4 separate regions of the Homo sapiens genome follow, and all the other regions are linked to region 1. Evidence: promoter capture Hi-C in 16 types of primary human blood cells and fetal thymus (Javierre and others, 2016). All regions are on one chromosome and are shown on one strand. The core of a region is centred on a gene start or on the middle of the fragment in contact, and the rest is flanking DNA. Distances in the headings are between cores, read along the strand shown. Region 1 holds the start of RCOR3 (REST corepressor 3). Region 2 overlaps HHAT (hedgehog acyltransferase). Region 3 overlaps HHAT (hedgehog acyltransferase). Region 4 holds the start of INTS7 (integrator complex subunit 7).

Region 1 (4,995 bases), core at 1,379-3,878:
TGGCTTGCTCAGACCACAAAAAGAAGAGTTGGGAGTTAGGAATTGAATTCAGTTTTTTTTTTTTTTTTTTGAGATGGAGTCTCACTCTGTTGCCCAGGCTGGAGTGCAATGGCGTGATCTCGGCTCACTGCAACCTCCGCCTCCCGGGTTCAAGCAATGATTCTCCTGCCTCAGCCTCCCGAGTAGCTGGGTTTACAGGTGCGTGCCACCACGATCGGCTAATTTTTTGTATTTTTAGTAGAGACGGGGTTTCACCGTGTTAGCCAGGATGGTCTTGATCTCCCGACCTCGTGATCCACCCGCCTCAGCCTCCCAAAGTGCTGGGATTACAGGCGTGAGCCACCGCGCCTGGCGTGAATTCAGTCTCTTAAAGCCAAAATGTGCTCTTTCCAAATGTCAAGTAAACCCAAAGGGAGCAGAGTGGTGTGAAAGTGCCATTCACCTACTAGCAACATCAATAAAGAAAATTAGTTTCATAAAACATTTAAAATTATTTGAAGCCCATCAGTATACACACTGATAGTCTTTGAATAAAATGTATTCCCAGCCAGTCATTTAGAAGGCAACCCAAATCTAGTGAACACTCTTGCATCACTGTTTTCACCTATTAAAAATGAGACTGTCCCGACTCATTACTTTTCATCCTCCTCACTTGGGACAGGAGGAAGAGCTGCTATCTGAAATCCAAATGGTTGGTAAATATCATTTTGCATTGTCTTAATGGGGAGAGGAGGAACAAAAAAACACGCCTCTGTATCCTAATAATTAAACATTGTTTCTCTCCAAGAAAATACAAGTAAGCTCTTTAATATCTAACATAGAAATCCAATGTCTGACACAAACGCAATATTATGGGCACTGGGCAAAAATTGACAAACTGTAAGGAGGAAAAAAAAAGGTGGGTCCCTTTCAAAGTCTGTCCAAAGCCTTAACTGAGAAGGGTCTCAGGCAGGGTGGGGAGAAGGAAACGCGCTCCACTCCGAGAGGCTCCAGCAAGGGCGCCTCCATATGCGGAACTCTCGCCCAATCCCTGCACAGGCTGAAATCTCGTGACCGCCGGGGAGCCTGTTTGGAGAAAAGTAGACAGGGAGCCCGCAAGCTGGGTTGGCAGAGGACGCTGGAACCTGGCTGGTCGGGGAGAAAATGTCTCCTTGGCAGCTGCAGCCACTGTCCTGTGGTCTAACTTCCCAGAGCTGGCTGGCGAGCGAGGTGTGCCTGCCGCTGGCGTCTCCCCACCCCCTTCCCCCACCCCTTTCTCTCCGCGGCTCCTGCACTCCGCAGAGCTGCCGCGACCAAAGCTACACCACCTAGCCAAAAAGAAAGAAAAGAGACAATCCCGGCTGCGCACAGGTCGGCAGGGCTCGCCCTTGGCTTCCCCGGCCGGTGACAGCCGCCCTGGCCTCTGCCACCCGCCCGACAGAGCGCGGCCCTCGGCGCCGGGGCGAGCGAGGTGGCAATTGACATTTGCACGGTTCGTCCATACAGTCCGCACGCCTGCTCCTCCAGCCCGCGGCCTCGGACCCTGGACTCCGCCAAGGGCCGTCTCCCTCTGCTCACCCCGACCCTGCCCCAGGCTCAAGGGCTAGGAAGGCGATGCCCCCAGCGGGCAAGTGGCCTCCGAAGGGAACCATGTTAACCTTGCAGTGCACACATCTGCCCACACGCCCAGTGTCACAGCCCGGCCAAGCCTGACAGCCTCCCCGCCACGGATGCCTGCCCAGCCCAACCCCGCATCCCCTCCCGGCCCCATGCCCGGACTCCTAGCCCGTCCACCCCAAACCAAGCCCAGGAAAGGGGATATGAGATTTTGCTTAAGCAAATATATCTACCTGGATCAAATTCAGGGATCCGAGCTTGGTATTCGGCTCCGACTCTCATCCCAACATCTGCAAAGCAATGCCAAAAAATATATATAAAAAATAAAAAAGAAGAAAAGAAAGAAAAAGGAAGAGACACTTAAAAAATAAAAATCGCTAGATGGAGGAAAGAAGCGGCGGGTGGATGGGAAGATATCAACTCGGGGCACTCCGGGAGATGGCAGCGGATTGGGGGCGGGGAGCGGGGGGGGGCAAAGGCGGAGGATTGGTCGAGGGCGGAGGGACGGGGGGTCGCGGGGGTGCTGCTGCACTGCACCGGGAGTTCGAGGCTACCGCAGCGCCCAGGCTCTGAGGGGAGGGAGGGCGGGAGAGCGGCGAGGGGAGGGGGCTGGGGGAGGGGAAGAGGGAGGGGGGCAGGCGGGCTGGCGGGGAGGAGTTCGAGGCTACCACCGTGCTCGTCGTCGCTGCTGCAGCCGCTCTCGGGCTCTGAGTAGTGCAGCCCGCCGTTGGTGGACGAGGCGCCGCTGCCGCCGCCGCCTGCCGGGCTCTTGGCGCTGCCGTTGGCCGATCGGTTCTTCCCCAGTAACTCGGGCCCTTTCTCCATCATGCCGGGCATGGTAGAACAGGGGAGGGGGAAAGGTGAGGGGAAGAGGCAGGCGTCAGGGTGAAGGCGGAGATGGCTTAGAGCGCGGGCGGGAGGGAAAGGAGGAGGAGGAGGAGACGGCGGCGGCGGCGGAGGAGGAGGAGGCTGTTAATATGGAGCCGCCATAACCGCCCCGCTCCGGCAGTAGCGCAGTCGCCTCACAACAACCCGCCCCGGCCCCGCCTCTCTCCCCTCCTCCCTCCGCCGCCGCCCGCCCCGCGCAGTCCCGGGCGCCCCTCGGCCGCACCGCGCTCTACGCCGCCGCCGGTATCACTCCGCTCCGCAGGGAGGTTCCGGCCGCCTGGGGGGAGGGGAAGGGGGGAGGGGCGGGGAAACCCCGCTCGCAGGCAGCCGGGCCACCCCAACCAAGCGCTAATAAAATCGCCACCGAGGCGTGGCCGCCGCTCGGGCTTTCTTCCTAGGGGGCGCTCCGGAGCGCGGGCGGGAGATGCACACGAGGGAGCGGGACTCTTTGCCCTCTCTGGGCGGAAGGAACGCGGTCACCCTGAGAAAGGACCGGCGCGACCCGACTGGGCGACCGGGGGGAGCGGCCCCCCCCCTCTGCGGACCGGGCTGCAGGCACGGGCCTGAGCGCGGCGTTCCTCAGATGTCTGGACCCGCAGGCCGCTCAGTTTCCCGGTGTCCGCTGGCAGCCTCGAGCTAGGGGCGCGCTCTGGCCCGCGGTGCAGTCGCGCAGTATAGCAGGGCGGCCTTGGGGCTCTGAGGCCCAACCGGCGAAAGAAGTAGACTCGGCCCTAACCATCTCGACGCTACAATTTTTGTTTCTGGATCTCTGAAGTAGGGCCCAGTTCCCGAGAGAGAGTCTGGGGATGACGGGATGAGTTTCCGGGGCTGAGCGATGCAACTGTTTTTTGCTGAAGCCCCTCTCCCCGATCCTAACCCTACTGTCTTATTCTTACCATCTTTCTTTCCTTTTTTTTCTTCTCTGTTTTAATAGCTGGGGAGTGAGTGCTGTGGAGTGAGGGGGAAATAAGATAAACATGAGACCTGGCCCAGTAGACGCGTTTTCAGTTCTTGCTGACCTGCGGTCTCCGCTTGGAGCGCTGGGGGAGAGGGCGGAGTCCCCCGGCAGAGGTGAAGCGAGAGCTGCTTTCTGGCAGCGTTTCCAGCCTGGAAGGAGTTGTGCTCTGTAATGCTTTTCTGAATTGCATTCGGCGAAAGGAGTAGGAAACTGCGTTTATTCCTTCACCAGATTTGAGGGCATCTGCTGCGTGCCAGGCTGCCTGGCATTGGGGGCTGTTTATGATTTTCTTTTCCTCTTTTTCTGATTTCTTCCCCCCCACTGACGAATAAGTAGAAATAAGTGAGGATTTAACTGTGAGCCTCTAGTATGCAGATGTATGCTGAGCGGTATTGGGGTTCAGCAGATACTCTCCAAACACTTGAAAATACTGTCTTGTAATAATTCTATTATGGGTCAATCCAGAGTGGATCAAACCAGAAATGAACGTCTCTGGCCAGAGCAAACCTTACTGAGAGAAATAATATATCTAACTCAGGAATTGAGCCAAGAAAACCCTGGGAAGTAAATATTTCTGAAGTGAAAAGTCTCCTGTGTGTGTACAAAACTATCTGGTTCTAGTAGTAGAGATAGTCTCATCTCTCTATTAAAGCTTAATGTGATTCCATTAAATATTTGAATCATAAAACTGGACCTTTTATTCTGTTCCTTTTCTCAATAAATGCAGTTCTGAATATTATTTTAATTCCCGTATAGTTTTCCTACAAGGAGAGAATGCCCTGGCCAAATGAAATGAATAGCCATTTTCCTTGACAGTCGTTATTTTTCATTACAAATTAATACACTGGTATGTTGGTCTTTATGCAGCAGTTTCTAATGAACATGATTCAGCTTCTTTGGTCCTGTAACACAAAAGCTAGACCCTGTCAAATGCTCCTCACTCTGAGGCCTCTGAGCCAGCCAGCTTTCTAACACCCAATGTTGTGGCACTCCATGCAGTTTCCTGCAGAAGGGAATCTGCATATAGATCAGGAACCAAAACGTTGGAAAGATTTAGGGACCTTTGTAACTTCTGTTTATTAGTAAAACCAGTAAAGTGAGAAGATTCCATTCGAGCACAGCACAAAAGGGCAGACGCAGAGAAGACTGCATTCCACAGTTAGGAGAAGAACCTGGGCGAGGGGAGAGTATGGCATTTTTTAAACAGGAAAGTATAATAGGTTTCTGTTTTGTTCCTGAAGAAAAGGAAAGCACCTGAAGCTGGCCTGGTTCTGAATAATAATGGACCTTAAAATGTTTCCCAATAGCTAACAAGGACTAATATACAAAGAGAAAAGGTCTAAGGCGAAATCTTGGAAATGCCTGACTGTAATGGGTTAGAAGAGGAAAAGAAGAAGCTGGACATGGAAAGAATGCTTTAGAATGGCTTGATAGGCCAGGCGCGGTGGCCCACGCCTGTAATCCTGGCACTTTGGGAGGCCGAGGTAGGCGGATCATGAGGTCAGGAGATCGAGACCATCCTGGCCGACATGGTGAAACCCCGTCTCTACTAA
Region 2 (4,973 bases), core at 925-3,424, 670 kb after region 1:
ATAAACAGAGTAATGGGAACCTGGCCATGTACTCAAGGAGTCCATCGTCTAAATAGCTGTAACTGCCTACCAGGCTTGTAGGTGATAAAAATAAGTTTCATATATTCTTGCTCAATAAATATGCAAGCCAAACATCATACTTGCAACATATAAGACAAATATTTTGCCAAAAAAATGCATATCAAAAATTACTATGTACCAAGGTACCTGAATTGTAGATGGAAGGTCAAGTGAGGTGAATGAGTGAGTCCTGGAGCAAGGTGTGATGGAGCAAGGTAGACAAGCAAGAGCTTCATCCTGTGAGTAAGTGTGCTTGATGCCTTGATTTATTTTGAACCAAAATGAACAGGTCACAGGCTACATGGCACAGTTGGGTTACTCGAATGTTTTAGATTTCTAAAATTATTACTAGCATAAGCTATGGCTCAAAGGCCACAGAGCACTGCTTAACATTAAGTTCAAGGTTAATGTTACTTGCTTCATGAAAGAGCACAGAAATGTGTTGCAGGGCTACAGACTGGGCTGAAAAGAACCTTCTGACTTTCAAAGGTGGTAACTGTGTTTTCAGGCTTTGGAGCAGAATGCTCAGATTTGAGGATGAAGATTAAAATCTTTATGATACCATCCTTTTTGGTTTTCCTGTGTGTTACATAGCCATGGCTTTCACTGAAATAACATTTTCTGTTAGAATCCACTGGCATTTCTTTCCTGCTGATGGCTGGAAAAATATTTATCTTTATACATACATGAGCATATTTAAATCCCCTCCAATGTGTTGTTTGACTACTCGGTTTATTTCAGTTTTTATTGAAATAACTGTCCACTTGTACTATGGCTATCTTTATAAAAACATATGTAAATGTATTCTGTTTTGACAGGGCTTTTTAAAGTGCATTTGCTTTAGTTATTCACACTGGGTGGAATGTAGCCACATTAATCATTTTTCAAATTTTCTGTGTGTGATTGCCTGCCATGAACACTGATGCCAGCACATTTCTTTTTAGCTACTTTTTTCGGGGTTAGAGGAATATTGCTACATCTTCAGAACTGATGATTTCCTACAAGATTGTAATATATCATATATCACATTCGCAAGATAAAAGCTATGCCCATAGTTTAAAATCACTTAAAATATATGTGTAAAGAGAAATGCTTAATTGATTTTCCAAATCATTTTCCTGTAAAGTTGAACTGCTTCTTAAAAACCTTAGCTGTTTTTTATACTACTATATACAATACCTATCAAGGATTTAAAATTCCAGTTATACTCAGTATTAGCAAGGTCATTCTTATGCACCATTGGTAGAAATACAAATTAGTGTACTTTTGTCTACAGGGCAGTTAAGAGTTAATAAGCAATATACATAATGAACATTAAAGATGAGAAAAACCTTGAACCTGGAAATTTCACTTACGAGAATTCATCCTGGTTATGATATTCATCTTAATACAGTTGATAGTTGCAAAAAATCTTTAGAATAATATGATTACTAATAATAGGAGACTAAAATAAATTATGGCATATCCACGTAAGGGAATTCTATGTAGCCATTAAAAAGGGTGGTTAGGTATGGACTCAGTGACTTAAAAAGGTGGTCCCGATACAATCATCTCTCTGTAATAGCATTTGTTTTAATGTTATATACATATGTCTGTTTGTATATACACATGGAAAAAATTTAGAAGAATGGATCTTAACATGGTTTCTGTTGAGAGGTTATTTTCTTGTTTAAATGTTCTAATTTTTACATAATACATTTTTTATAGTTATATATACACACACACACCCATGCACAAACACACATATATGCACTACAGAAGCTTCTTTTCCAGCTGTCTTGCCTCTAGGCATATGGACTTTGAACCAACCTAGTAGAAAGGGCCCATAGTGGGGGCAGGGAATCTGATGGCCCCATCCCTAATAAACCTGATCTGCCTAGTTCCACTGTCCCCTAACACAGCAGCAAGGATCCTGCTCACCAGACTGTCCTGGATGCAGGGAGTCTCCACCAGCCTCCGGACTCCATTCTCCACAGTGACTCCCAGCCAGTTGAGCGCTGCCCAGCACCAGAGGTAGTCGTAGCCGCCATGCCAGTAGCTCACAAATGCAAATGTCATCGCCGTGGAAAACAGTGTCCCCAGCAGGCCATGCTGGGACCCGCCCACTGGAATGTACACATACCTAGAGAAAGAAGAGGCTGTTAGGAGACATACAGAGGGCTGCCCTGCAACTCTATCTGCTCCCCAGCTTGACTATCCTGTCACATACTGCTGTTCACATATGCAGATCCTTCCTCACTTCCAAGAGGCCAGATTCCTTGGATTCTCCATCCCACAAGGAGTTGGCGAAAACCCAAGCCTTAGCTCTGCAGGGTGTTAGGTTAAATGAACACACAGGCTCAAGAGCTCTCATTACTAGAGCAAAATAGCACTTACAAGAGGCAGGGCAAGAAGTCATGAATTTAGAGTTTCTGAAAGGGATGGGCCCAACCCTGGAAATCCAATCACAGAATGGCAGTTAAGCTTCTGGCTACATGAGGCCAGCAACCTTCAAGGCAGGTGATATGGTTTGGCTGTGACCCCACCCAAATCTCATCTTGAATTGTAGCTCCCATAATCCCCACGTGTCATGGGAGGGACCCAGCGCGAGGTAATTGAATCATGGGGGTGGGTTTTTCCTATGCTGTTCTCATGATAGCGAATAAGTCTCACACGAGATCTGATGGTTGTATAAAGGGCAGTTCCCCTGCACATGCTCTCCGGCCTGGCGCCATGTAAGATGTGCCTTTGCTTCTCCTTCACCTTCTGCCATGATTGTGAGGCCTCCCCAGCCATGTGGAAATGTGAATCCATTAAAGTGTTTTTTCTTTATAAATTACCCAATCTTGGGTATTTCTTCATAGCAGTATGAAAATGGACTAATACAGCAAGTGTGGATTTTACAGCTCAAACTATTAAGTTTATGGTAAACCCATTATTTAAATGCAATTGGTAAGATCACGTTCCTAAACAGGCAGGAGCTGGGTGCAGCAGATGGGTGCCAGAGACGGTTCCCCAGCTTTCTAGGCAGGTTGCCCAGAAGCAGTCGTGAATTCACAATAAAGAAAAGAGCTCTGTGCTCACAGGGCAGCCAAAGTACCAGACAAAATGCATAGCTGTCCCCTGGGTATGTTCTCCATTGCTGAGACAGCTGCCTGAGTACGTAGAGACAGTACTATGTTCTTCAATCAGTAATTTCCTGCTTGAGTTGGACAAAACTCACACCTTGAGCTGTTAGGACCTGGAAAGCTAGGAGCATACCCTTCTTGCAATAGCCTTTTTAAAAAGCCCATAGGCCTTTATTGCTGATCAGTGCTTCTTTGTCCAACCTTCCTCCAGGAAGGAAAATGAAAAAATCCTTTTCTGAATACACAGTATGTTCCAAGTACTAGACACTTACATGTACCACTTTGATTCTTTAAAGCACCATATGTATAGTTTATACCTACTGCCCCAGCATTTTAAACAATTTAGCATTTGTCCTGTTTATATATTAATTTAGGGGAGGAGATCAAACTTGTTTTTGAAGAGGAAATAAAATTGTTTTTAGAGAGGAAATTGTTCTATTCAAAATGTTTTCAACAGGACTATTTTATTTTTAGAGATAGCATCTCTAGATGTTACCCAGGCAGGAGTAGAGTGGTGCAGTCACAGCTTACCACAACCTCAAACTCCTGAACTCAGATAATCCTCCCACTTTAGCCCCCCAAGTAACTGGGACTACAGGCATGCACCACCACACCCAGCTAATTTAAAACTTTTTTTGTAGAGATGATATAAAAGTTGCCTAGGCTGGTCTTGAACTCCTAGCCTCAAGTGAACCTCCTGTCTCAGCCTCCCAAGTGCAAGGATTACAGGTATGAGTCACTATACCTGGCTTAATAGAACAACTGTATAGGTAGGCAGGCTAAAAATAAAAACAACTTATCAGGCAATAAATCTTTTAAAAGACTCTATGATAAAACTGTGCCACTGGACAAAGACTCTCTCCTTGACTAAACTTTAGTCAAGCTCCTCTAAGCTCTCTAGGCCTCAACCTTGGTGTCCATCTTTATTGTAGCAAGAATCCTGCTAAGTCAGTTTAGAACGAACCCCCCACCTGCAATATCTGATCATGCTCCATCATCTGGCCAAATTCTTCATCACCTACTCTTGGTGTCTGATCACCCTGGCTGCCTTCAGGAGGAATCCTGTTAGGTCTGTTTAGCCAGAATCCTCCTATTTCCCAATGTTTCCTCTTAATATTCCACTCAATGACCCCCACCTTGCTCCTTGGCTATATCCCCCTTATCCAAGCTGTATTCAGAATTAAGCCTAGTTCTGGCTGGGTGCAGTGGCTCTTGCCTGTAATCCCAGCACTTTGAGAGGCTGAGGCGGGTGGATCACCTGAGGTCAGGAGTTCGAGACCAGCCTGGCTAACATGGCAAAACCCTGTCTCGACCAAAAATACAAAAATCAGCCAGTCATGGTGGTGTGGGCCTGTAGTCCCAGCTACTTGGAAGGCTGAGGCAGAAGAATCATTTGAACCCGGGAGGAGGAGGTGGAGGTTGCAGTGAGCTGAAAACATGCCACTGCACTCCAGCCTGGGTGACAGAGCAAGACTCCGTCTCAAAAAAAAGAGTCCAGTTCCATACTGAGGTCTCTTTTCCCCTATTACAACAGTTCCCAAATAATTTTTTTTTTACTGCTTCAACTACTACCTATCTCTGGTTTTTCTTTAACATCCTCCACTCTCAAATGTGTTCCAGTTTCCAGTTTAGATAATAAATTATTTGATCACCTTAGATAATCCCATTTTATGGGTGAGGAAACTGAGGTTGAGAAATTAATTTGCCCAAGGTACACAGCTGGGAAGGAGAAAGACAAAGATGCAAATCTGCATCTGTACAGCCAACTTACTGCTTCCATTACAACCCTGGGCTAATTTTTAAAGT
Region 3 (5,492 bases), core at 63-2,562, 800 kb after region 1:
AGTGATTTGGGGCTATAAACTTCTGGCTGCATAATTCCTTTCTGCGTGAAGGCACAAAACAATACAAAGAGGCCAGGCTGTGCTCCTTGGGTCCATCAACAGGCCTGGAGGGACAGCAGCCAAACAGAAGGGGACAAAGCCAAAACCTGGTGCTCTCCTGATGAGAGCTATGGCAGAGCTTTGCACTCTCCTCTACCTACAGTTGCTAAAGTGGGATCTACACACCCTTCAGGCGTGGCTTCTCAGACAGTTCCATCTCGTCTCTCATGGGCCTTATTATTTACCAATATCCATGTAAAACAATAATCACACAAACAGTAAAAGCATAAACAGATACAGAATAATAAAAATACCAAATTCAGGATAGTGGCTGCCATTTAGGGGCAGGGTGGGAAACACAATCAGGAGGGAACCCAATCAGGTTTCAACTATGTTGTAATATTTTATTTCTTAAACTAAGGATGGAGAAACCAGTGTTTGCTCCATTCTCTCTGTGGTGAGAACTACTATTACTCCCCATTTTACAGATAGGAACCTGGGCACAGAAAGGTTACAAAATTTGCCTAAGATCACACAGTAACAAGTGGCAGGGTCGGAACTTGAATCGGGTCAGCTGTCTCCAAGTCACCACGTTTACTAGATTCACACAAAACTGAGGCCAGACGTGGAACAGAGCCTGTGTGAAGCTGACCAGGGAGTTGTTAAAGGGAGCTGACAGAGGTTATTTCAAGCAGGAAACAAAGAAACAAACCAAAAAAACAAAGGGAACGAGCTCTAAAGGTCCTCAGAAAATCCAGCCTCAAAGAGCACAACGTATGCAAAGGTATTTGAAATCAAATGAGGGTGCGGTGTGTTGTGGTGAGCAACTCCAGATGAACAGATTTGCTCTTTGAGTTGTTTCAAGCTAACTAATACCAGGTCAAAGAAGCACAGGCACAATGAGAGATACCTTTTTCTGCTATAAAGGGCAGGTAACGTGAAAGACAGGGACAAGAAGACAGGCACTTAGTGTGCCAAGGACCATCAATCTCGGGAAGCCTTTCAGCTGCTCCCAGAGGTGGTCTCGGTCAAGGTCAAGAGTCAGCCCCAGAAAGAGCTTCAACAGCTGCATGAAAATTGCCTCCTGGCCTCCCATCAGCCTCCCCTGCTTTGTCCTTAAATGAGAGGAGCCAGTGATCTGTAGAAAGGGCTCTACACTGGGCAACCATGAACTAACACTCTCCCAGGTAACTGTTTCTTCTTTTTCTTTAACACCAAACTGATCCTTTCAAGGTCACAATGAGTGGTTATTAACTTGGAAACCCAAGAGAGAGTTGACTTCCCAGAGTGACTATTCTTTGAACATGTTAGACATGGAAAAATTTGGTTTTGGAAAATTGCTTCTTAACGGGCTCAAACCACCAAAATGTCCCTCTTTAAAGGAAAGATGTGTTGCTGGAGGACACAATTTACCTAGGTAGAATATTAAATCCTATTTGCCCATCTTGTTCCTCAGGATATCACCTGCTGACATCTTGTACTTGATTCAAGAAATGCAGGGAAGAAGATCCCACACAGCAGAAGCAAAGTAATACTCCACACACATAGCCAGGCAAGACTTAATGAAATAATGTGGGACAAGAAGGGAGCTTTTTTTTGAGACAAAGTCTCATTCTGTCACCCAGACTGGAGTGCAGTGGCACGATCTCGGCTTACTGCAAGCTCCACCTCCCAGGTTCATGCCATTCTCCTGCCTCAGATTCTCAAGTAGCTGGGACTACAGGCACCCGCCACCACGCCCGGCTAATTTTTTTGTATTTTTATTAGAGACAGGGTTTCACCATGTTCACCAGGATGGTCTCAATCTCCTGACCTTGTGATCTGCCCACCTCGGCCTCCCGAAGTGCTGGGATTACAGGCGTGAGTCACCGTGCCCGGCCGAAGGGAGCTTTACACAGGGCAAAATGTCTGAAAATTCTAAAAAGCACATTTTCAGGCAGAGTCCATGATATGGTTTGGCTGTGTCCCCACCCAAATCTCAACTTAAATTATATCTCCCAGAATTCCCATGTGTTGCAGGAGGAACCCAGCGGGAGGTAAATGAATCACGGGGGCCAGTCTTTCCCACGCTATTCTCGTGATAGTAAGTCTCACAAGATCTGATGGGTTTAACAGGGGTTTCTGCTTTTGCTTCTTCCTCATTTCTCTCTTGTCACCGCCATGTAAGAAGTACCTTTCACCTCCCTCTGTGATTCTGAGGCCTCCCCAGCCATGTGAAACTGTAAGTCCAATTAAACCTCTTTTTATTGCCAGTTTCGGGTATGTCTTTATCAGCTGTGTGAAAACAAACTAATACAGTCCATCACTCACTTTGCCTAAAAGAAGTGCTCTGTAAAATCTATGTGTAGACTGAATTGGAAATTAACTACTAATTAAAGGATTCTATTGCAAATCCTTCAAAAAAGTAAAGAATCCCTTTAGAAAGCAAATAATTACCCCCCTCAAAGTATCCAACAAATTCAGATTTCCATATGTCAACCTGGTTTAAAAGAAACATACAAGTATTTTCTGCATCTAAGAAGTTGTCCGTACACCAAGTTACCTCAGCACAATAATGAGTTAGTTAAGAATGAACAAAGATCATGGTATTCTGAGGGGACTATGGGGGAAGGAGAGAAAGGGGGAAAGGGAAGGCACGGAATAGGGGGTATTTTAAATAACTGTGCTGCAACTTGCTACATTTCAGTATATATTTATAACAGCACATCAAGCAGGCATCTCTTCCATTCTGCAAGCATGCACCATGAAATTATCTTCACACTACATAGAATATCTGTAATTGAACAGTCAAGTTCCAGAGTAGTAAATCCCAGAGTAGCTTTAGGTTTACACTGCATTAATTTTAAATAACCTTAGGATTCTAATCCAAGAAGAAAATTTATAAAAATTTTTTCTACTGTATCTTAACGAACCTTAGAATGTTTAATGCCTCAAAAGAGGGGAAAAAGAAAGGAATCTTATGCTAACTGATATATGTTTGTCTCCCCAGCTTTCAAAACAAGGATCAGACGTCAAATGTCTTATCCCTTTCCTCTCACTGTTATGTTGTAGAATGAGAAAAAGCAAATGGATAACTTTGCTGGCATTTCATTACCATTTAGATAGGTGCACAGGCGTTATTTCAACAACAGTTGGTACTTAAACACTGAGCTAAAAAACTCTGATTACTTACACTTAGACAGGTTTTTAATCTCCAATCAGTGAACAATTAAGTCTTTCAAAAAGGACTCTAATGTACATTCCACAAAGCTTTATTATAAACTTTGCCATGTAAGAACAACCAACTTTCAATTATTTTCACTTTTCTATCTCCTCGCTCACTCTCAAATCCCTTGCTAAAGCTCTCTTTTCTCCCATAAACTCATATACCTGGATTTACCATGGATTTACCATAGAGAAGCACCATTCAATAATAAATTGAAGAAATATTACCTTTCTGAGCTCTTTTAAAGAAAAACCTCAAGTCACTGTCTTTGCTCCTCTTAATCCTAGGCTCTGCCTAGTTAGGGTATAGCTCCACTCTGCCATGTTCTGTTTTCTTAGAAGATTCTGAAGTTCAAAAGAATATAACAGTTCTTATCTTTTAGAGATACTACCGAAATATTCATAGATAATAAGATATCTGGGATTTGCTTCAAAACAATACGGGAGAGAGTACAGATGAAAGAAAACTGGCCAGGAGTTGATAATTGTTGAACCTGGGAGATGAATACATTAGGGTTAATTCTACATTTATGCTTTTAATTTTCCAGAATGCAATATTCTAAAAGGGGAGGCACTGAGAGCCCCCACCTGAACCCTAAATATTCAACTTCCTCCTCACTACCAATTGAATGCATGTGCAGGGGGCAATGAGCAAAATGGGCTTATCTCAGCACAATCCCACCTCCTTGCTCAGCCTTTGTGCATAGAAAGCATGAAAAATAGAAAAATGGAGAGGCGAATTATGGGAGGGAGAAGGGGGAGAATGCCAAGGATCAGAATAATGAATTAGCTTATCAGTCCTTAGATCGCTGGGAATTGGCAGTCTATGAAGAAGAATATCTTTCTATAACAAGATGCCCCATGGTGATCTTTAGCAATTACAACAGCACTTCTGAAATTCATCTGGTCCTAAACACCTTCTGGGATAATAATCACAGAGAATCCTAGCCTCTCCTTGAAAGATTCTGTTTAGTATCTGAGCCAGAGATCTGAAATCTCTATATAAAACAAGCACTAGAAAATTATGCCCAGTCAAGTTTTAGAGATCTAGGTTACAAGTTCCATACCCTACTTTCTTTTCCCATTTTTTAAAAGATATATCATGTTTTGGGAGGCTGAGCCAGGAAGATCACTGGAGACCAAGAGTTGGAGACCAGCCTGGGCAACATAGCAAAACCATGTCTCTATAAAAAATTTAAAAATTAGTCAGGCATGGTAATGCATGCCCACAGTCATAGCTACTTGAGAGGCTGAGGTGGGAGGATCACCTGATCCCAAGAGTTCAAGGGTGTAGTTAGCTATGATCGTACCACTGCACCTCAGCCTAGGTAACAGGGTGAAACCCTGTCTCTAAATAAATAAATATAAATATAAAAAGATATTTCAAAGTGTAAATAGCAGTTTTCTTGGAAAAATAGAAATTACCTTTCTGTTGTTTTAATTTTCCAAATACTAATTTCATTAATATTTTCTGATTTTCAGGTATAGAAAAGAAAAAAAGTCACCTTTCTCGTTCAGTTTGTTCTGTGGCAGAATTTCAAAGGTAATGTTCCAAATTCATTCTGACATTCATCACTGAGTTATCCAAAAAGAGAACATGCAGGGAATTTCAAAGAGAAATCTTATGCCACAGAAGTGACCTTTCATTTTATTAGCTAAAGACTGCTATCATTTTGATAAGCACAACTTAGTTGTGAAGAAACAATGCTCTGCTAGTCTGAGAGCAAAGATCAGCGGCGACCCAGACCCAATCTAATACTCCCTACCAGAGAAACCAAGCTCCAAGCTTCTCTGCAGAGTTCTGCTAAAAATACTTCCACAAATAGTGCTACAAACAACTTTTTTTTTTTTTTTTTTTTTGGAGATGGAGTCTCGCTCTGTTGCCCAGGCTGGAGCGCAGTGGCATGATCTCGGCTCACTGCAAGCTCCACCTCCCGGGTTCACACCATTCTCCTGCCTCAGCCTCCCAAGTAGCTGGGACTACAGGTGCCCACCACCACACCCGGCTAATTTTTGTTTTTGTATTTTTAGTAGAGACGGGGTTTCACCGTGTTAGCCAGGATGGTCTCGATCTCCTGACCTCGTGATCTGCCCGCACTTTTAACAAAACTTAACACCACCCTATCCCATAGTGTAGGAAGTAGAAGAGAAAAAACGTTACTGCCAGTTATCAAAGCTCCCTCAAAAGATAAATCCTCAGCTAATTTTCAAATTTGCTAGCATTCCAGGGGAAAGCTGTTTGTACATTT
Region 4 (5,550 bases), core at 2,437-4,936, 780 kb before region 1:
ATTATCAAAATTGGTAATCTATATTGTTTTAATCAATCATATAGTACTAATAATTGAATTGAAAATTCAATCCATAAAGAAGTTTTAATACTTGGAGGCTTATGACAGAAAACAGCAATTTAAACACATTTTTTGACACAGAAGGGTATGACAGAGTGATCAGTAAAAGAGCTTTTCAAGCATAAAATTAAATTACATTAGGAGAAATTCTGTAGGAGAAATGAAATGGAAATAAATTCAAGAGGAAAAAGCAGCTATATGGAATGTCCAGCAGATAAAGAGGAGTTTGTATTTTTCTAAAAAATGGATGATGTGATTATCAAATCACTATAGTATTTAAATTATATTAGATACACTTAAAGGAGTGATATAGCATTTTTATTTTTAAAATGTCAATATTCCCAATATGGTCAGAAATTATATTCTTTGCATTTGTTTAAGTTTATAATAAAAACTTTTAGATATCAATTTAAAAATACACAGAAGAGTAATCAGATTTCCATTTTAGAAGGATCATTAGCAGCAATGTGGAGAATAAACCGAAGACAGACAAACTAGGAGGCCATCTGGGAGACTTCTTACAATCCAGACAAGAAGGCATTAGGGCCCAACCTAGGGAAATGGAATAGTAAAAATAGAACACATCCAGCATACAGTAAAGATGCATAATCATAACAGATAAAGAAGAGAGGATGGATTCAAGAGATTTTAACGAAATGTTTTGAATGTGTAACTGTGAGGAAGATGAAGAAGTCTTTAATTTACTCAGGTTTCTGGCAGGTTTAAATAATGAGGCCACTCTCTAAAATTGGTAATATTGCAGGTTTGGGGGAAAAGCTGAGTTCAGTTTTGGGTATTTGAGTTTGAGATGCTTGTGGGATTGACCGTCTAGGTGCTAATCAACCCACACAGCTTTTATAGAAATGAATCTCAGGTACAGGAAGTCTTCCAATAACATAATTTTGTACAATGTCATTTCGTTATACTGTTCATGAGGAAAAAATCAATTCCTGTTTGAGGCCATTGGCCGTGTGGAGTTTGTACATGCTCTTCCCATGTTCATAGGGGTTTTCTCCAGGTACTCTGGTTTCCTCCCACATGCCAAAGATGTGTATGTTAGGTTCACTGGTGTGTCTACATGGTCCCAGTAGACAATGAGTGTGTGTGAGTGCTTCCTGTGATGAAATAGTGTCTGGTCTAGAGCTGGTTTCCACCTTGTACCATGAGCTGCCAGGATAGGCTCCGGGCACCCACAGCCCTGAGCTGGAATAAGTGTGTCAGAAAATGAATGAATACAAATCATTGTAAAATAAAAATGGGTAAACTTTACAATAATCATACAAATGAATGACAATAAACGATTTGGTATGAAAGGGCTCAGTGAGCTGCCATATTTGTGATTGTTTTTGACCTGGGTGGTGGTAGGAGGTGCTCCTTCCAATTTTCACTTTGCAAACATTTATTCCTTGATTTAGCCCACCACCACTATGACCGAGGTCACTCGCTGATACACCAAAACTTGGATAATTATCTCACCTGTTTTTATTAATCTTTCTCAAATATATGTATAGCACACAATTATTTCAACATTTAATATTAAAAGTACTTTGAGTCTTTCTTTAGAAGTTCGGTGGTGTTTGTGTGACCAAAATATGCCACTGAAACAATTCTTATTTATATCAAGTAGCCTATGGTAGAGTTAGTTTAGTTATACACTGTTTTCCCTAAAGTCACAGTTTCCAAGAGCCTATCTAGACATTAAGTGAGGACTTACTATATAAGTAACAGAAGGTTGTATGTATGTAGAAGTGGAAGAAGCCCTGGTTGTGGCTGTGATCATCCAAAGGAGTAGGTAGAAGAAGAAAAGGGGTCAAGGATGGAACACCAACACTGAAGAGGAAAGGAGATGATTCTATAGATTTCATATAATAACGAATGAATTTCAGTGACTATTATGTAACAACGAATGAGTACTTGAGAATAGGAAAGAGGGAAGGGAAAGGTAAACACATGGAGAATTAGGAGAAAATCTGTCACAAAATAGAGGCTGAACAGCTCCCCCAGAACACACATATAGTAAGGTGTGGAAGTATAATAAAACCCAGGCAGTTTAACTTCAAAGACAGAGTTCTTAGCCACTGTGCGTACTGTCACTCTTAAACAGAGGACAAAGAAGTTACTCAAACAAGGTCCCAGGAGAGACAGAAAGAGGAGCATTTAAGTATAATTACAAAGATTATCTAAGAGGGAAATAAATAAGGATGGTATAAAGTTTCAGACTGCTAGCAGGAAGTTGAGGGACTACTTCTCAGTCTCTTTCTCAATATTATTTTCCTAGACTCATCGCTGAATATAAAAATTCCCTTCTCAGGTTCGTTTTCCACATAGTTTCAAGGGGAAAAAGAACCTCTGGCTATAGTCGACCTTCACATGAGTGAGATTTTATTTCTGTCCAAGGTTAATCTGGGTAGTTAGCTCCCTTATCTGAAACTTACCAAAAAGTTTAAGTTGATGACATCCAAATCTAACCTCAAATCTCTTATTGCCAATGTTTTAGCGTAAGAAAATAAGTTAGATTTCTACGTATTAACATGGGAATACGTTCAACTTATACCATTAAAGTGAAAAAACTGGACGTTTTGATCCGATTTCTGAAAATAATAGGTATTACCTCTAGCGTCGAAAACATCTGGAATAATATACTTCAATCTATTAACAGGGGTCATCTCTGGCGGATGTGGTTACAGGCATCTTTCACTCTATAATTTAAATTTTTATGACCGTGTAGTAAACGGGGAAAATAAGATTTTGTTCCTGTTAGAAGCAGATATCCTGTCTTCTCTGCTTGACTGAGTTCCTTAACAGCGGGTCATATTCACTGGTATATACCTATAGCACATAGCTGGGCTCACTAAGATTCTACAACAAACGAATGAATTAATCAATGATTAGGAGTTTTGAGCATCTCAAATAACCGTTGAAGGAAACATATACACACAAATGCATGCATTTTCCCGTTAACGCGCAATGGAGATGTAAGCTGTAAGGGGCCTTGGAAGGCAGTTATTTCGACGTCCCTGCCTACGTTACGATTTTAAAAGCCCGATTACGATTACAAGTGTCCCGAGGGGATGAAAGTACAGCTTTCTTTAGTAGTCCCTGCTAACACTAATTTACCCTTGCCATGGGAGAACTCAGAAGCTGAGTTCAGAATTGGAGTCGGCCCTGGTCGGAGGTGGCGTGTGTTTCGGGGGAAATGAATTCCGCCAGCTCCGAGCAGCGGTTGGGACCGTTACTCACCATTTCTCAGGACGCCAAGCTGGGGCTGGCGGAGCACCGAATTGAAGAGCATCAGGGTCGGAGGAAAAGCCTCAGCTGAGAGAAAAGTCGTAGAAATGCCTCCAAGTTCAGCAGAAATCGCAGCTTGCGCCTCTCACAACACAAATCGTTATCGCCTCCAACTCCCGCCACTGTAAGCCCCGGCCGCCAAACTCCGCGCCAAACTGACGTCACGCTCTCTGATTGGCTTCCGAGCGACGTCCGGGCGCCTCAGAGTCATTTCCCCCTTCGGATCCCCGCCTCCTTTTCTCCCAGCCGCGGGAACCTGGAGTCCAAGAGCTCCTTGAGCGCCTGCGCAGGGGGTAGCAGAGGCGCGGACAAACCGCGGGGTGACCAGGGCGCATGCGTAACAGGGCTTGACAGCGCGCGGAAGAAAAACCAGCAAGAAGGCGGCGGGGGAAGATGGCGGTCCTGGGGTAGAGTTTGCAAGCTTTCTGACTAGGCTAGTCGAGTAACTATTCGGGTCATGGCGTCAAACTCAACTAAGTCTTTCCTGGCAGATGCCGGCTATGGCGAACAGGAACTGGATGCCAACTCTGCCCTTATGGAATTGGACAAAGGTATTCGAAAGAGAGGGCTGAATGGGTGAAACAGGCGTGGGGGGAAGTGGCGCCACCAGGTGGTGGTTGCTTTGGGAGAAGACGGATAGGCGCATGCGCATGTCTTCGCTGGGCGGGGAGCGCCTGTGCTTTTGCTGGGGCGTGGGCTTTGACCCCTTCGGGAGGTTGCGGGAAATTTGCAGGATTGTGTGACTGGCCTTATACCGGCTAAACAAGTAGCGAGCTCTAGTGAGAGGCCCGTTTTGACCACTTGAGGGAGCAGTCCCCCGATTTTCTAAGCAGTGACAGTGGCTAGTTTCTAAGAGACACTGCAAAGAAATTGTGAAATTGGTTTTCAGTCTGTTCAGTTGAGACCAGGTCTTCATGAAATGTGCTGAATAGTAATCTTGCACCGACTTGACAGCGATTCATTTGATTTCCATAGCTCTGTTACCTGCGGGTTACAAGGCAGGCTAAACCTGGCCAAGACCATAAAAAAGCAAGGGCCCTGCTCATTCTCTGCGGACAAGTTCCAGGAGTTCTGTTGCCGTACAGGGAGCAGCTTGGTGTAGAGGGAGCTTTGGGGTTACACTGAGTTAAGTTTCAATGCCGCTGATTTTATGATTAACTTCATCTAGCCTCGGCTTGTCGTCTGCAAAGTGGGTACAGTACCATTGAGCCGGCAGAATTGTATTAAGTGACTTAATGGTATGCAAAAGAAGCATTTAGTAAATGCTGAAGAGATATACCTCCCTTCTTAGATGTGGATATGGGAGGCAAGGTCGGAAATTTGTTAGTAAAGAACTCGACTAGTAATATGAAACCTTTATTTCATATTGAGGATTTTTATTGTACGGGAAACATTTCGGCAGCTGGTATACAATTAAATCTTGATTAATCGTAGCCAATATATAATGTTGGAGAACTGGACTAGAACTCAGAAGGGTTTGAGCCACTTCCCAGTTTTCTGAGTTGGACATGTCTATTAACTTTTTTGGGACTCTTTTTCTGTTTATTTTTTAAACTGTGAATATTTTTAGTGGGTTAGTCTAAATAAGAGTTTCTCAGGCTCTTAAAAAAGCTTTTACCTTATTTTGATAAACACAAAAATTTCACAGCCCCCTAATGGGATATTCCTTTGGTTGAGTCTCAGTATCTTTAGTGCACCCCCATCAACCAAGAAAATTATGTTGAACTTTTCCTTCTCTTACCAAATCTTTAGGGGTTTTCTCCTCTGAAAAAAAAAAGTATAATACTAAATGTGTTTTTCTCTTTTTTTTTGGAGACAGAGTGTTGCTCTGTTGCCCAGGCTAGAGTGCAGTGGCGCCATCTCGGCTCACTGCAACCTCCGCCTCCCGAGTTCAAACGGTTCTCCTGCCTCAGCCTCCCGAGTAGCTGGAATTACAGGCGCCCGCCACCACGCCCGGCTAATTTTTGTATTTTTAGTATAGACGGGGTTTCACCATGTTGGCCAGGCTGGTCTCCAACTCCTGACCTCAGGTGATCCGTCCGCCTCGGCCTTCCAAAGTGCTGGGATTTACAGGCATGAGCCACCGCGCCCGGCCTTAAATGTGTTTTTCAAACACTTTCCTCCTCATTCTGATACATTTCTTTCTTATTCCTCAGTGAAAGTTACAGGTCAGGATAATATCTAATATCCCTACGAGTTCTA

What was found. The method cuts DNA at HindIII sites, captures the fragments that hold promoters and counts their contacts. A CHiCAGO score of 5 or more calls a contact.
Region 2: a fragment that was not itself captured here is called in contact with the fragment with the promoter of RCOR3 in region 1 in 3 of 17 cell types (megakaryocytes, fetal thymus and M1 macrophages); the score reaches 7.9 in megakaryocytes.
Region 3: a fragment that was not itself captured here is called in contact with the fragment with the promoter of RCOR3 in region 1 in 2 of 17 cell types (M2 macrophages and M0 macrophages); the score reaches 17.3 in M2 macrophages.
Region 4: the fragment with the promoter of INTS7 here is called in contact with the fragment with the promoter of RCOR3 in region 1 in 2 of 17 cell types (fetal thymus and activated CD4 T cells); the score reaches 5.2 in fetal thymus.

The regions. Positions count from the first base shown.
Region 1 is chr1:211,256,999-211,261,993 of GRCh38, reverse strand. It overlaps RCOR3 (REST corepressor 3), which reads right to left and starts at 2,628. Exons shown (of 12, transcript NM_001136223.3): 1 at 2,268-2,628; 2 at 1,830-1,886. The coding sequence starts at 2,433. It overlaps LOC105372902 (a long non-coding RNA gene), which reads left to right and starts at 2,802. Exons shown (of 2, transcript XR_922552.3): 1 at 2,802-3,258; 2 at 3,419-4,181. RefSeq lists silencers at 2,050-2,349, 2,420-3,209 and enhancers at 1,912-2,411, 2,914-3,415, 3,690-3,809. The HindIII fragment of the contact is 7,419 bases long and covers 1-4,096 here.
Region 2 is chr1:210,585,107-210,590,079 of GRCh38, reverse strand. HHAT (hedgehog acyltransferase) reads right to left here. Exons shown (of 12, transcript NM_018194.6): 10 at 1,981-2,182. Among named protein-coding and RNA genes, the nearest start is that of HHAT, 260 kb to the right of the region's middle. The HindIII fragment of the contact is 702 bases long and covers 1,824-2,525 here.
Region 3 is chr1:210,450,699-210,456,190 of GRCh38, reverse strand. All of the region lies in intron 7 of HHAT (hedgehog acyltransferase), which reads right to left. Among named protein-coding and RNA genes, the nearest start is that of HHAT, 120 kb to the right of the region's middle. The HindIII fragment of the contact is 3,956 bases long and covers 1-3,290 here.
Region 4 is chr1:212,033,693-212,039,242 of GRCh38, reverse strand. INTS7 (integrator complex subunit 7) reads left to right here and starts at 3,686. Exons shown (of 20, transcript NM_015434.4): 1 at 3,686-3,899. The coding sequence starts at 3,806. DTL (denticleless E3 ubiquitin protein ligase adapter) reads right to left here and starts at 3,495. Exons shown (of 15, transcript NM_016448.4): 1 at 3,301-3,495. The coding sequence starts at 3,352. RefSeq lists enhancers at 2,676-3,210, 3,226-3,465, 3,211-3,747, 3,626-3,835. The HindIII fragment of the contact is 8,834 bases long and covers 1-3,771 here.